Regions from separate parts of the Homo sapiens genome. Here all the other regions are linked to region 3. Evidence: promoter capture Hi-C in 16 types of primary human blood cells and fetal thymus (Javierre and others, 2016). All regions are on one chromosome and are shown on one strand. Each heading gives the region's core, a stretch centred on a gene start or on the middle of the fragment in contact. The rest is flanking DNA. Distances are from core to core; before and after follow the strand shown. Region 1 overlaps ZC3H14 (zinc finger CCCH-type containing 14). Region 2 has its middle 8.1 kb from the start of HISLA. Region 3 holds the start of GTF2A1 (general transcription factor IIA subunit 1). Region 4 overlaps GALC (galactosylceramidase).

Region 1 (2,700 bases), core at 11-2,510, 7.3 Mb before region 3:
CCCAGGAGTTCAAGAGCATCCAGGGCAACATACTAAGACCCTGTCTGAACAAAAAATTTAAAAATTAGTCAGGCATGGGAGTTCAGGAAGGAGGGGACTGCAATGGGATGATCACTTGAAACCAGGAGATCGAGGCTGCAGCGAGCCATGATTGTACCACTGTGCTCCAGCCTGGTGACAGAGCAAGACCCTGTCTCAAAAAAAAAGATATAGAAGTTTACAAAAGAAACATATTAAGTATAGCCGACATATACTAAGAATTCCTTAGGAAAATGCTAGGGACACCTATAAGTACTTTACACATATTAGCCCATTTGATCCTCAATAATAATTTTATAAAGCAAGTGGCTGTACTATTTCCATTTTATAGCTAGAGAAACCAAGGCAAGACACAGCCAGGATTCAACTTTGGCTGTCTGGCTTCAGAGGCTGATAAGGTTTGGCTCTGTGTCCCCACCCAAATCTTATATTGAATTGTAATCCCCACCTGTCAAGGGAGGGAGGTGACTGGGTCATGGGGGTGGTTTCCCCCATGATGTTCTCATGATAGTGAGTTCTCAAGAGACAGTGAGTTCCCGAGTTCTCAAGAGACAGTGAGTTCTCACAAGATCTGATGATTTTATATAAGTCTCTGGAAGTTCCTCCTTCACTCTTCTCTTTCCTGTCGACTTGTGAAGAAGGTGCTTGCTTCCCCTTCCTGGGGCCTCCCCAGCCATGTGGAACTCTGAGTCAATTAAACCTCTTTCTTTTAGAAATTACCCAGTCTCGGGTATTTCTTCATAGCACTGTGAAAATGGACTAATACAGAGGCTGTGCTCTCATCACTCACAAACTGCCTCTCCAAAGTAAACCTAACTCAAGTGTCAAGAACCTCTCTTTGGACAGAATATCAACTCAGGCTTGTGCCAAACTTTGGTCTGAGGCACAAAAATTCAGAAACATACCATACGGTGAATCGAATTGTGTTGTTCCCTAGAAACAGGGACAGATCCTCTGTCATTTGGTCCTGACTTTTCTTGTTGGCCACCATCACCATAATGTAATCAGGAAGTTCTTCATCTATTTAAAAGGAAAGGTAGATCAAAACTTTGTTTCCTCAAAACTTTCTTCTTAAAGTTGATGTGCTTGAAAATATAGATGTAGCTCTAAGCTTTAGAGTCGCAGAGCTCTACTGGAATTACATTGGACAAGATGGCTTAGCTTTAATTTTTTTCTCTTCATTCCACAGGTATTTCAAATACTAGAAGAATGGAAATTAAGAATAATTGATACTTACAAAACTAAACATTCTGAATTATAGGGTCAAACTTGAGCATGCATTCACTTCCTTGAATCTTTTTAATAATGCTTATTAATTTCAAAGAAGCTTATGGGAAATATTTGAACATTCCCCAAGAAAAAGAATTGAGTTTTGTTTAGTTTTAATTTGCAAAGTTTCAAAATAACACTCATTTCTCAAGTGAACATCTTTACCCTTGCTAAAGGCAGGTTTCAATTACTCACAGTAACAAACTTGTAGCAACATCGAATAAACAAATAGACCCAAAAGCTCCACATCATTTAAAAAAATCAATTTTAACATTAAATAATGTCAACTCAATGCACGGTTTTACCCTCACAGTGGTAATCCTACAATGATTATAAGGGTGAGGTCTAGGATAAAAAAAAAAAAAAAAGAAAAAAGGCCAGGCGCGGTGGCTCATGCCTGTAATCCCAGCACTTTGGGAGGCCAAGGTGGGCAGATCACAAGGTTAGGAGATTGAGACCATCCTGGCTAACACAGTGAAACCCTGTCTCTACTAAAAATACAAAAAATTAGCCGGGTGTGGTGGTGAGCGCCTATAGTCTCAGCTACTCGGGAGGCCGAGGCAGGAGAATGGTGTGAACCCAGGAGGCGGAGCTTGCAGTGCGCTCAGATCCTGCCACTGCACTCCAGCCTGGGCAACAGAGCAAGACTCTGTCTCAAAAAAAAATAAATAAATAAAATAAATAAAAGAAGCCAAAAAACACCCTCCTAGTGGTAATCCTACAGTGATTATGAGAGTGAGGTCTAGGATTTAAAAGAACAAAAAAACAAAAACCTCACTAAGAAGATAAGGAAGCAAAAGCTGTTATCAGGAACTCTAATCTCTGACCCTCAAAACTCCATTCCAGTTCTCTTTTTTTTTTTTTTCTTTTACGACAGAGTCTTGCTCTGTCTCCCAGGTTGGAGTGTAGTGGCACAATCTCGGCTCACTGCAAGCTCTGCTTCCTGGGTTCAAGCGATTCTCCTGCCTCAGCCTCCCGAGTAGCTGGGATTACAGGCACCTGCCACCACACCCAGCTAATGTTTGTATTTTTAGTAGACACCAGGTTTCAGCATGTTGACTAGGCTGGTCTCGAACTCCTGACCTCAAGTGATCCACCCACCTCGGCCTCCCAAAGTGCTGTGATTACAGGCGTGAACCACCATGCTGTGACAAATTTCTTTAATACCTTAAATACTTGTAATATTTCTATGCAGGCAGAAAGGTTCATTTCAGAAGTACTTTTTTTGTTTCAAAGAAAACTATAAAAAATGCAGTTCAAGTGTTGAAAGAATAAAAGAATAAATAAATCTTGGTTCAGCTTTATTTTCTCTGAGCCTCAATTCTCTCATCTGTTAGTCTTCCAACAATCCTGACAACAAATCGTTTATGAAAGTGCCCAGCAAATGGTGGT
Region 2 (2,700 bases), core at 159-2,658, 6.8 Mb before region 3:
GGGAGCCTAAGAGGTTTAAAAAGTTCTTTTATTTCCCCATAGTGTCTGGCTTTTGAGACTCCACTCACTAGTGACTCACAAACAATGCTGACTTGCTTTTTCTAGCTAAAGTTTACCCTTTTCCTGAAGCATAAAACACACTGTTTCTGTGTGTAGGCCCCACAGGGCAGCAGTGTTTTCTGGATTTGAAAAATTTAACAGAAAAGCTCTCAAAAAATTGTATTATTTTATCTGTCTTTTGTGGCAGTTTATTGAAAGCTATAAGAGGAAGCCAAAAACCACCAACATTTTGAATTTTTCCTTCCAAAGTCTTGATTCCAGACCCTTGGTGGACATTATCTGAGTCTCGGGATATAGCAGGAAATAGTTTAACCAGAGATTTTGCTACCACTTAACATGGGTTACTAACATCACAAGCTAGCTCTATCTTGGCATTGCCTTCTCCACTGCAGCTCTTCAGCTCTGCCTATTCAACAGTCTGGAGTCTGTAACATCACCCTCACTTCCATGTTCCAAATTCCATTAGGATCCTTCAGGATTCAAGGAACAAAAATACCAGATTCACATTAAAATAATAAGGAAGTGTATTTGGTTCATGTACCTGCAATATTCAAGACTCTCTGTATCTTTAGGACACAGCTCCAGTGTTGTGTGATTCCCTGAGCTCTCCTTTTTCCCATGCATTGGCTATTTCATGTTAACAAAATGGCCACAAGGATTCCAGGCATCTCATTCACATACCACCACATCCAGATTAAAAGAAAGAGTCTTTGTCCCAGAATCTAAGCAAGTTCGGTCACATGCCCACCACTGAACCAATCACTGTGGCTTTGATTGACTTATTTAGGTACTACGTGCTCCATTGCTAAAGCCAAGAACCATGTAGGTCTGGATGTCAGGCATTCCTAAAAAGAGGCAGCTCTGAAGTGTCAGCTGAAACATTATGAGATGTTACATTTAGAATGGAGAGTTGATTTCTCATAAAGGGTTACAGCCTGCAGAGTGGTCATTTTGACAGGCTGGGAAACGTAGCCTCTGGTAGAAGCCAGAAGGCAGGTACATTGAGGGAGGGGAGGATGGAACAGGGATTTATGCTGAACAGGTTAGCCAAGTATAAATATTTAGCAGGTTATAAGAGTAGCTATAAATATTCATGAAGGGTGTCCTAACGCGTGTGCACTGAATAAACATGCATGTTGCATGTTCACTTTTGTGTGGAGACTTAACATATAAATGCATTACAATTAGGCCTTGTATGTCAAAAGGTGAAGCAGAGACACAGAGGCATTCAAGTGCGCAGCCTCTGTAAACCAGCCAGAACCAGTCCATGGTTGGTGGTCTTTCATCAAGAGAAAGTTACCAAAATCAACCTCTTGTCACATCAGAGCTGTAGTGATGGCTTGTGGAACAGAGGGGTGAAATCAGGCTGCATCTGGCAATTGGTGAGCTGTAATTGTTTCAATATTTCTTATCTCGAGGCCAGTGCTTGTTTAGCTGCTAGAGAAAAAGAAAAATCTTGTGGCAGGTGGAACATAGTTTATTCTTTAAGTACGGGGGTATGTGACTTAACTCTTGCTTGGCGTGACCTTAGGTCTTGTTTACAATTTAGTATCTTATAGCCATAAAGAGTCCATTTTGTCAGTCTTATGATCTCCATTTTAACATTAACACTGGTCAGTTGTTGTGTCTAAGTTGTAAAACAGAGTGGGTGCAATGAGGTGTGTACAAGCTCCCATTCTGTCATGGCTAGGAACTCAGTTTTTAAGGTTTCTCTGGGGTCCCCCAGCCAAGAGGGGTCTTTTCAGTCAGTTGGGGGGCTTAGAATTTTAGGATTTTATTTTTAGTTCGCATGAGGATATACGACATTTTGAAGGAAACTCTACCTGATGCACAAGAATCTGGGCCATTAACTGGCTCCTATCAGGTCCTGCCCTGTGCCCCAAGAGATTCAGGGAGGCCGTAAAGGAATCAAGCAACCACTAAAAGGTTAGGCAATATTACCATCACTGGTGACTATAAATCAAAGACCCCTTTCATTTTCTTAGCATCATGTAAACCTCCCGATTCTGGTGTAAACCAAAAAGGGGAAGACAATCCCATAATGCCTGAGATGGAATTTCCTATAGCTTGGTGGTATGTGGGCTGGGATTTACAATTAAGCTGATAAAGAAAATGTAACAATGTTTTCTCGCAGCACTGATTCCATGAACAGAGATTCATGCCACTGTGTAGTCTGCAACAAAAGTAAGTCAACTGATGAACAGCTTACTAAAAATTTAAGGAAGGGATATCCTAAAAACATTTCTCATGAGCAAGGAATGATAGCTGGAAATTAACATGACAATTCTTGTTACTACTAATTTAAGATGAATAAAATGTCATTTGCTAATGTTTGTTCCTACTATTTTAGTTCAGCAAATGTAAAAATTATTAATAACAGCTTTCCTAAAGGGAGACTCTTTCTCTTTAACCTTACTTTCCCATATAATCTTAAAATTTTCCACCAGGAATACAAATAGCCCTAAAGGTTTTAGGAACTGAATCCTGAGGTTAGGACAAACTGTAAAACTGCAGCATTTTTAGTTTGTTTGATTAATTAACTTATTATTTATTTATCCAACAAACAATTGTGATTACCAGTGAGAATACCCTTAAAATTGTCCTTTCTGGAGATCAGAACAAGAATTGTTTCTAAATTTT
Region 3 (2,907 bases), core at 135-2,634:
GAATGGACTTGGCGTGAAAAGAAATGTCAAGGTTCATAGATATCCTCTACACCCATTCACAATCTCCCATTTTCTGAGTATTCAAGGCCTCTGGTTTCTCTAATCCCTTTCTTCAAGTCTTGGCAAGATGCATTTTTTTTCCTCTTTGGTAAGACGCCTTTGATATTCTTCAAATCTGGTTTCACCAGCACAGAACTTTGACGTTTCGTTTTGCTTTGTCTCTGGAAGACAAACTCCCTCACTCATCCACGCGACATTTCAAGTCCCTCAAAATTCCCAGGGACAAGAAAACTAGGTACTATGAATTCTGCCTTCCAAACAGCATTCTCTGTTCTGCTTGCAAGGTCGATATAAAGGCAGGATTTGCTTGGGCAGAACAAGTCAAAAGCTTATTGAATTGCACTTATTGAATTGAACATGGAACACAGCCGGCTTGCTCTCTTATAGCGAGAGGCCATGCGAGTTGGTGGGTCAAGGGCATGCATTTCAAAGTGATCAGTCACTATACGTTGGCCACATGGAGTCGCAGTATTTTGGCAATATTTTTAAAAACCAGGGAAAGTTACTGTGCTGTTACAATCCAAAGGCTGGTGGGGTTTTCTTCCACCCCGCATTTCCACTAGCGTGATAAATTATTTAAAGTACGTGGCCTAGTAGAGGACTAACCTCTGGGTAACATAAGCCTAGTCTTCGCAGCGTACCCACTGTGGAAACAAACGAATCAGACGTTACTAATTGTGGAATGTTAAAAGTAGGCCCCGATCGGCTTTTACTCCCTTTGGAAAATCCTACACAATTCTGCGCGCGAAAGACCCACCCTCGGTGAGGCGGTGAGGCGCGAACGCCGCGAAGCTCACAGTCAAAGCCTCGCTGACAAATCAAGAGATGACTCCGCATTTAAAACCTTCCCGAATAGGAACGCGCCAGAGGCCGGAAGCCACGCCACGTGACCAGTCCTCCTCCGCGGCCATTCCTAGCGAGGCAGTAGGCACCGCCTCTGTCACATTTCCTAGCTCCTAAAGCGCGGGACCAGGCGGAAACGTGCGACAGGAGGCGGTCCCACCTAGCTTTGGACTGGAGTGTCAGTAGAACTCCCGTCTTTTCCAGCAACGCTTTGCAAGTTCTTCACCGCAAAGAACTGCCGCAGACTTCCGCCTGGGTGCCAACCACGTGATCACGCGAGCGTTGGAGAGGCGTAGGTCCGATTTCACTACTTCACTCCCCGGGCTCCGCCAGTCCAGTACCCGCCACGGCGCGTGACAACGCGGCTCGCCGGCGGCCTCCGCCCCGGCGCGCCTGCGCACGCGGCTCTCGCGGTGTCTCGCGCTCAGCCCCGCCCACCTCTGCCCCCGCCCTTTCCGCCCCTCCCTCCCCCTTCACCCTGTCTCTCGGCGGCGGCGGCGGCGGCGGTGGTGGCTCGCGCAGCTTGTTGGCTCGCTATATAAAGGAGAGAAGCGGGCGGACCGGACGGCTGGAGCTGCAGCCGGTGGCGGCAGCGGCGGCGCAGGGAGCGGTGACCGGTGGTGGTTTCCCTCCTTGGCGCGGGGTGGGGAGCGGGCAACGCCCCCCGGACCCCTGAAGGGTCGTGGCTTTTTTTTTTTTTTTAAGGCGATTCTCGAGGTTTTCAGCTGCGGGAGGAGTGCCCCCCTCCTCCTCCTCTCTCCGCTCTCCCCTACTCCTTCAGGATTGATTTTGTTTAAAATTTTTTCCCCAATCTTGCGGTGATTTGGGTCACCCTCCGGGTGTTATAGTTTTTTTTTTTTTGGTTTTGTTTTTATCTTGTTTTCTTGGGGTTGCCCCCTCTTGTTTGTGTTGTGTGTGGAAATGGCGAACTCGGCAAATACAAACACCGTGGTAAGGACGTGGTTCGGTGGCCGGCGGGGGCTTCGTTCAGGCTGCAGCAACGGCCGGACCGGGCGGGGGCGGGGACGGCGGCGACTCCCGGCCTCGACTCTTCAGCCGCCCGCGCGGCCGCCGCCGCCGCCGCTTCCCGCCTCGGGCGGATCGGGCCGGAGCGCCGGGCGGCGGGCGCGGGGGGGCGCCGAGGGCTCGCGGCGCGGGGAGGGCGGGGGCGCCGGTGGGGCCTGGGGCCGCCGCGGGCCGGGCCGGGCCGCGGAGGCGGTTGGGCCCGGTCGGGCGCGCAGCCCCGGCCCCAGAACCCGGCCGCCGGGAGGGAGGGCGGGAGGGGAGCCGCCGCTTCCCCCCGAGGGGCCCGTCCGCGCTGGCTTGACGAGGGCTCCCCGAGTGGCTACAGAACAAAAACTGTGTGTGGGGAATCGGGCGAACCCCCGAGACCCATCGTGATCCACTTTAATGCAGTGGAAGATTAATGGTTACTTTGGGGGTTTCTTAGGTTGTTTTTGGCGGCTGTGCTTTGGGAACCTTCTCTGAGGCCATTTTATGTTTAAAAAAAGGACGAAGGTTGGTTGAAAAGCACTTATCTCAGTTCCTTCCGAATGGGTAAAATGGCGAAGGGGAAGACCCCCATCGTATCTTCGCCTAGCAGAAGCACCAAAACAAACAAAAAAAGCCTGCAGTGGTCCAAGTGTCCCCGCTTTCGCCTTGAAATTTACCTACTTCTTCCCGTTGGTCCCTTTTTGTTACTTGCGATCACGTAGGTTTGCAAAAAGCAGTCACATAAATAACCTTTTCAGTCACCAACGCAGTGTGATCACTAGTCCACCCAACTCTTATTTTTATGATGACAATAAAACACGTTTTTTGCCCGGTCCCAAATGCCGCAGACCAGCCCGCGGCCGCCCGACACCGTACCGTTGGCGACTCGGGTCTAACCATCATGGCTGCGGCCGCTTACCCTGCTTTTCAGTCCCTGAGCCTTGTGGTCCTCCTCCCTTTGGCTGCCCTGTTTATATAGAGCCATTGCCGCTCTCTAATATAGACTCTGCC
Region 4 (2,914 bases), core at 385-2,884, 6.8 Mb before region 3:
ATCGCGGAGATGGCAGTCGGGGAGCGTCGCTCCAGAAAGGGCCAGGGAGTGCGGGAGCGTCCGTGTGCGAAAGAGAACGCCCCAGTGGGATGCTTTGGCTGTGTCTCTCCCTTTTGGAGGAGTTGGTGGGTGGTGGAGTCGTTAAGTCCCGTGCAGTTGTTAGTGCAGGGTAAGAATGGGCTCCTCCAGAGAGGGTAGCGCCGAATAGGATTTCGTTTGGAGGCAGGACTGGTGCCTCAAGGTCTCTTTAAAAGGAAGATAAGCGAGCGGCCTGAAACTACCGGGTACTCCCTCTGGGCCCATGGGCTTCATGGTGGCCGACCTTTGGGTGAGAAGGTTTTTGTTTTTTGGTTTTGTATCCGAAATTACATCTAGGGCTAATGTTTCTTGAAAATGTTAAGGTTGAACTCGGATTTTTGGGGTTGAGTTGGATGGAGCTTGCATCCTTACATTCAACTCAGAACAAGCTTGAATGCCTGCTGCAAGGATGACCTGGTCTGTAGTGTGACCACAAGATATAACCTTCTGCTAGGGGAAATTTTTTTCCCCCTGGAGTTAGCTGATCCTTTTTGATTTTTATGTTTTCATTCCCTAATTTGCAATCTCTCCAGCCGTGCTGATGTGTATTTCAGGGGAAACCTGTGGGCCGATGAGTTAATGCATTTATTCTTTGCTACTACTATTCTCCTTTTTATGTTTTTGGGCTAAACCTGAAACAGCCAATATTTCATGGAGTGAGGCCCCATCTTTTTTATAGCTTTACTTGTGATACTATATCTAGGGTAAGAGCTTACCGAAAAATGGAAGTCTTTGTTTCCATTAGGTTTATTAAGCCCAGTTTAAAATTACTAAGATGAGAAGAATCATTTCGTAATTCAAAGTAGGAAACTCCTACCTAATCTGATAGAATATACAATTATTAGTATCCCTATATAGTTCATTACTCCTCATAGGAACTCACTAAATAATGAAAATTCTTGCAACATTATATTTGCATACCACTTTAAACTTCTTTGTGGAGTCCTTGGTTCCTAGCCCAGGTTGTGCCAGTAAGTGTTTAGAGTGCTGTCATTTAATCTTCATGTCAGAGAGGGAAAGCGGTATGGTACAGTAAGTAGTTAAGAATGTAGGGCCGGGCACGGTGGCTCACGCCTGTAATCCCAGCACTTCGGGCTTCCGAGGCGGGCGGATCACGAGGTCAGGAGATCAAGACTATCCTGGCTAACACGGTGAAACCCCGTCTCTACTAAAAATACAAAAAATTAGCCAGTCTTGGTAGCACGCGCCTGTAGTCCCAGCTACTCGGGAGGCTGAGGCAGGAGAATCGCTTGAACCCGGGAGGCGGAGGTTGCAGTGAGCCGGGATCACACCACTGCACTCCAGCCTGGGCGACAGAGTGAGACTCCGTTCAAAACACAAACAAACAAAAAAACCCAAAAACCAAACCAAAGCGAAACAAAACAAAAAGAATGTAGACTAAAGAGAAGATTGCCAAGAGTGTCTTCTGGGTTCTGCCACTTCACTGTGTGGCCTTGGTGGGTTATCTATTATAACTCCTCTCTGCCTCACTTTCTTTTTTTGGGATACAGTTATACCTGCATGGTAGGAGCGCCGTGAGGATAGACCTAAAGTACTTAGGATGATGTCTTGCACATTACTAATTTTGGTTAATAACCATTTTCAGGGATTAGGGAGGAGGAAGTTATTTCAAGGCCACTGAATGATGAAATGTCCCCAAGGCTTTTTCCTGGGCCTGTAAACAGTTCCAGGCCTCATTCAGGCAGTGTGGTTAGTAATCCCGTGATTTGCTATTGCTAGATGGTGCATTTTAACATTTGGTTATATTGCCTTTGACTTATGCTGTTGTGTTAGGTGTGGCTATAGGTTTGCAATAACATGATTGGTGTGTTTGCCTAAAGCCGATACTTTCTCTGTTAAATGTGGGAGTGCATAGAGGGCAAAAGAAACCCTAGACAGCAAAACGCACAGTATTAATGGCGTAGCGTAGGACAGGAAGCATTGTTTACCTAGGGTCAAGGATATATTAGTGTGCCTATACAGTGTTCATTTAAAGAGTGCCTATTTTAATATTGGAGCCTCTGCTAGGTTGTAAGCTCTTTGAGAAATATGTATTTTAAAAAATTTGTGTATATAACACTTGCCTTTATTGAGAACTTACTATGTGCCAGGTAATGTGCCAAGTCCTTTACATACATCTAATTTTAGTCTTACAGCAGTTGAATGAGTAAGATAGCCCACTTTACAATAATTTGCCTATGATTACATAGCTTATTAATGATGAAATCAGGATACAAACTCCATTTGACTCAAAGACTCCTATTTATGTTGCCAGTACCAGTGCAACAAAAGACCCATAAAATATTTAATAAGTGTTTATTGAATAACAAAGAATGAGGATACAAACTTGAATAAGATACAGTCCATGTCCTTAAGGAACTAAGAGGTGAGTCAGAAAAATAAAGGAGTGCCGGGGTTCAAAGTGTTGTAATAAAGATATGGACCTGGTGCCAAAGGAGAGGCGCTTACATCAAATCAGTGAGCAGGGCCAGAAGGCATCCTTCCTTCAAATTCCAGAGGTGGAATTTGAGCTGAAAGGTGAATTGGAGTTGTCCAAGAGAGGATGTGGGGTGCATTCCAGGCATAAGAATAGAAAACGTTGTTTGATACATCTAGGTAGAAGGTGTGAGAGTGATAAGGGATAAAGTATCAGGGTTAGGAGCCAAATAATTAAGGGATTTGGGTGCAAAATTGAGCGATTTGAACTTTATCCTGAAAGCTTTTGGGAAAGGGACGGTCTTAGCATGTTTACATGGAAGAGTTTCGTGATTACATTTGTATTTTGGGAAGGTTACTCTCGTAAGTAGCATGGAAGATAGAATACAGGGAGAGGCAG

Evidence for each region. The method cuts DNA at HindIII sites, captures the fragments that hold promoters and counts their contacts. A CHiCAGO score of 5 or more calls a contact.
Region 1: a contact is called between a fragment that was not itself captured here and the fragment with the promoter of GTF2A1 in region 3, in 1 of 17 cell types (total B cells). The highest score is 7.5, in total B cells.
Region 2: a fragment that was not itself captured here is called in contact with the fragment with the promoter of GTF2A1 in region 3 in 4 of 17 cell types (activated CD4 T cells, total CD4 T cells, non-activated CD4 T cells and 1 more); the score reaches 13.9 in activated CD4 T cells.
Region 4: a contact is called between a fragment that was not itself captured here and the fragment with the promoter of GTF2A1 in region 3, in 6 of 17 cell types (total B cells, activated CD4 T cells, naive B cells and 3 more). The highest score is 11.1, in total B cells.

Annotation. Positions count from the first base shown.
Region 1 is chr14:88,566,398-88,569,097 of GRCh38, reverse strand. It overlaps ZC3H14 (zinc finger CCCH-type containing 14), which reads right to left. Exons shown (of 17, transcript NM_024824.5): 3 at 945-1,059. Among named protein-coding and RNA genes, the nearest start is that of ZC3H14, 4.7 kb to the right of the region's middle. The HindIII fragment of the contact is 216 bases long and covers 1,153-1,368 here.
Region 2 is chr14:88,015,061-88,017,760 of GRCh38, reverse strand. No RefSeq gene overlaps it. Among named protein-coding and RNA genes, the nearest start is that of HISLA, 8.1 kb to the left of the region's middle. The HindIII fragment of the contact is 2,994 bases long and covers 1-2,700 here.
Region 3 is chr14:81,219,436-81,222,342 of GRCh38, reverse strand. GTF2A1 (general transcription factor IIA subunit 1) reads left to right here and starts at 1,384. Exons shown (of 9, transcript NM_015859.4): 1 at 1,384-1,854. The coding sequence starts at 1,825. It overlaps GTF2A1-AS1 (GTF2A1 antisense RNA 1), which reads right to left and starts at 1,125. Exons shown (of 2, transcript NR_135252.1): 1 at 818-1,125; 2 at 1-704. RefSeq lists silencers at 1,220-1,519, 1,550-1,599, 2,130-2,249 and enhancers at 2,590-2,679, 2,720-2,789, 2,662-2,907. The HindIII fragment of the contact is 3,079 bases long and covers 391-2,907 here.
Region 4 is chr14:87,989,718-87,992,631 of GRCh38, reverse strand. The region is part of intron 1 of GALC (galactosylceramidase); the gene reads left to right. Among named protein-coding and RNA genes, the nearest start is that of GALC, 2.0 kb to the left of the region's middle. The HindIII fragment of the contact is 2,330 bases long and covers 470-2,799 here.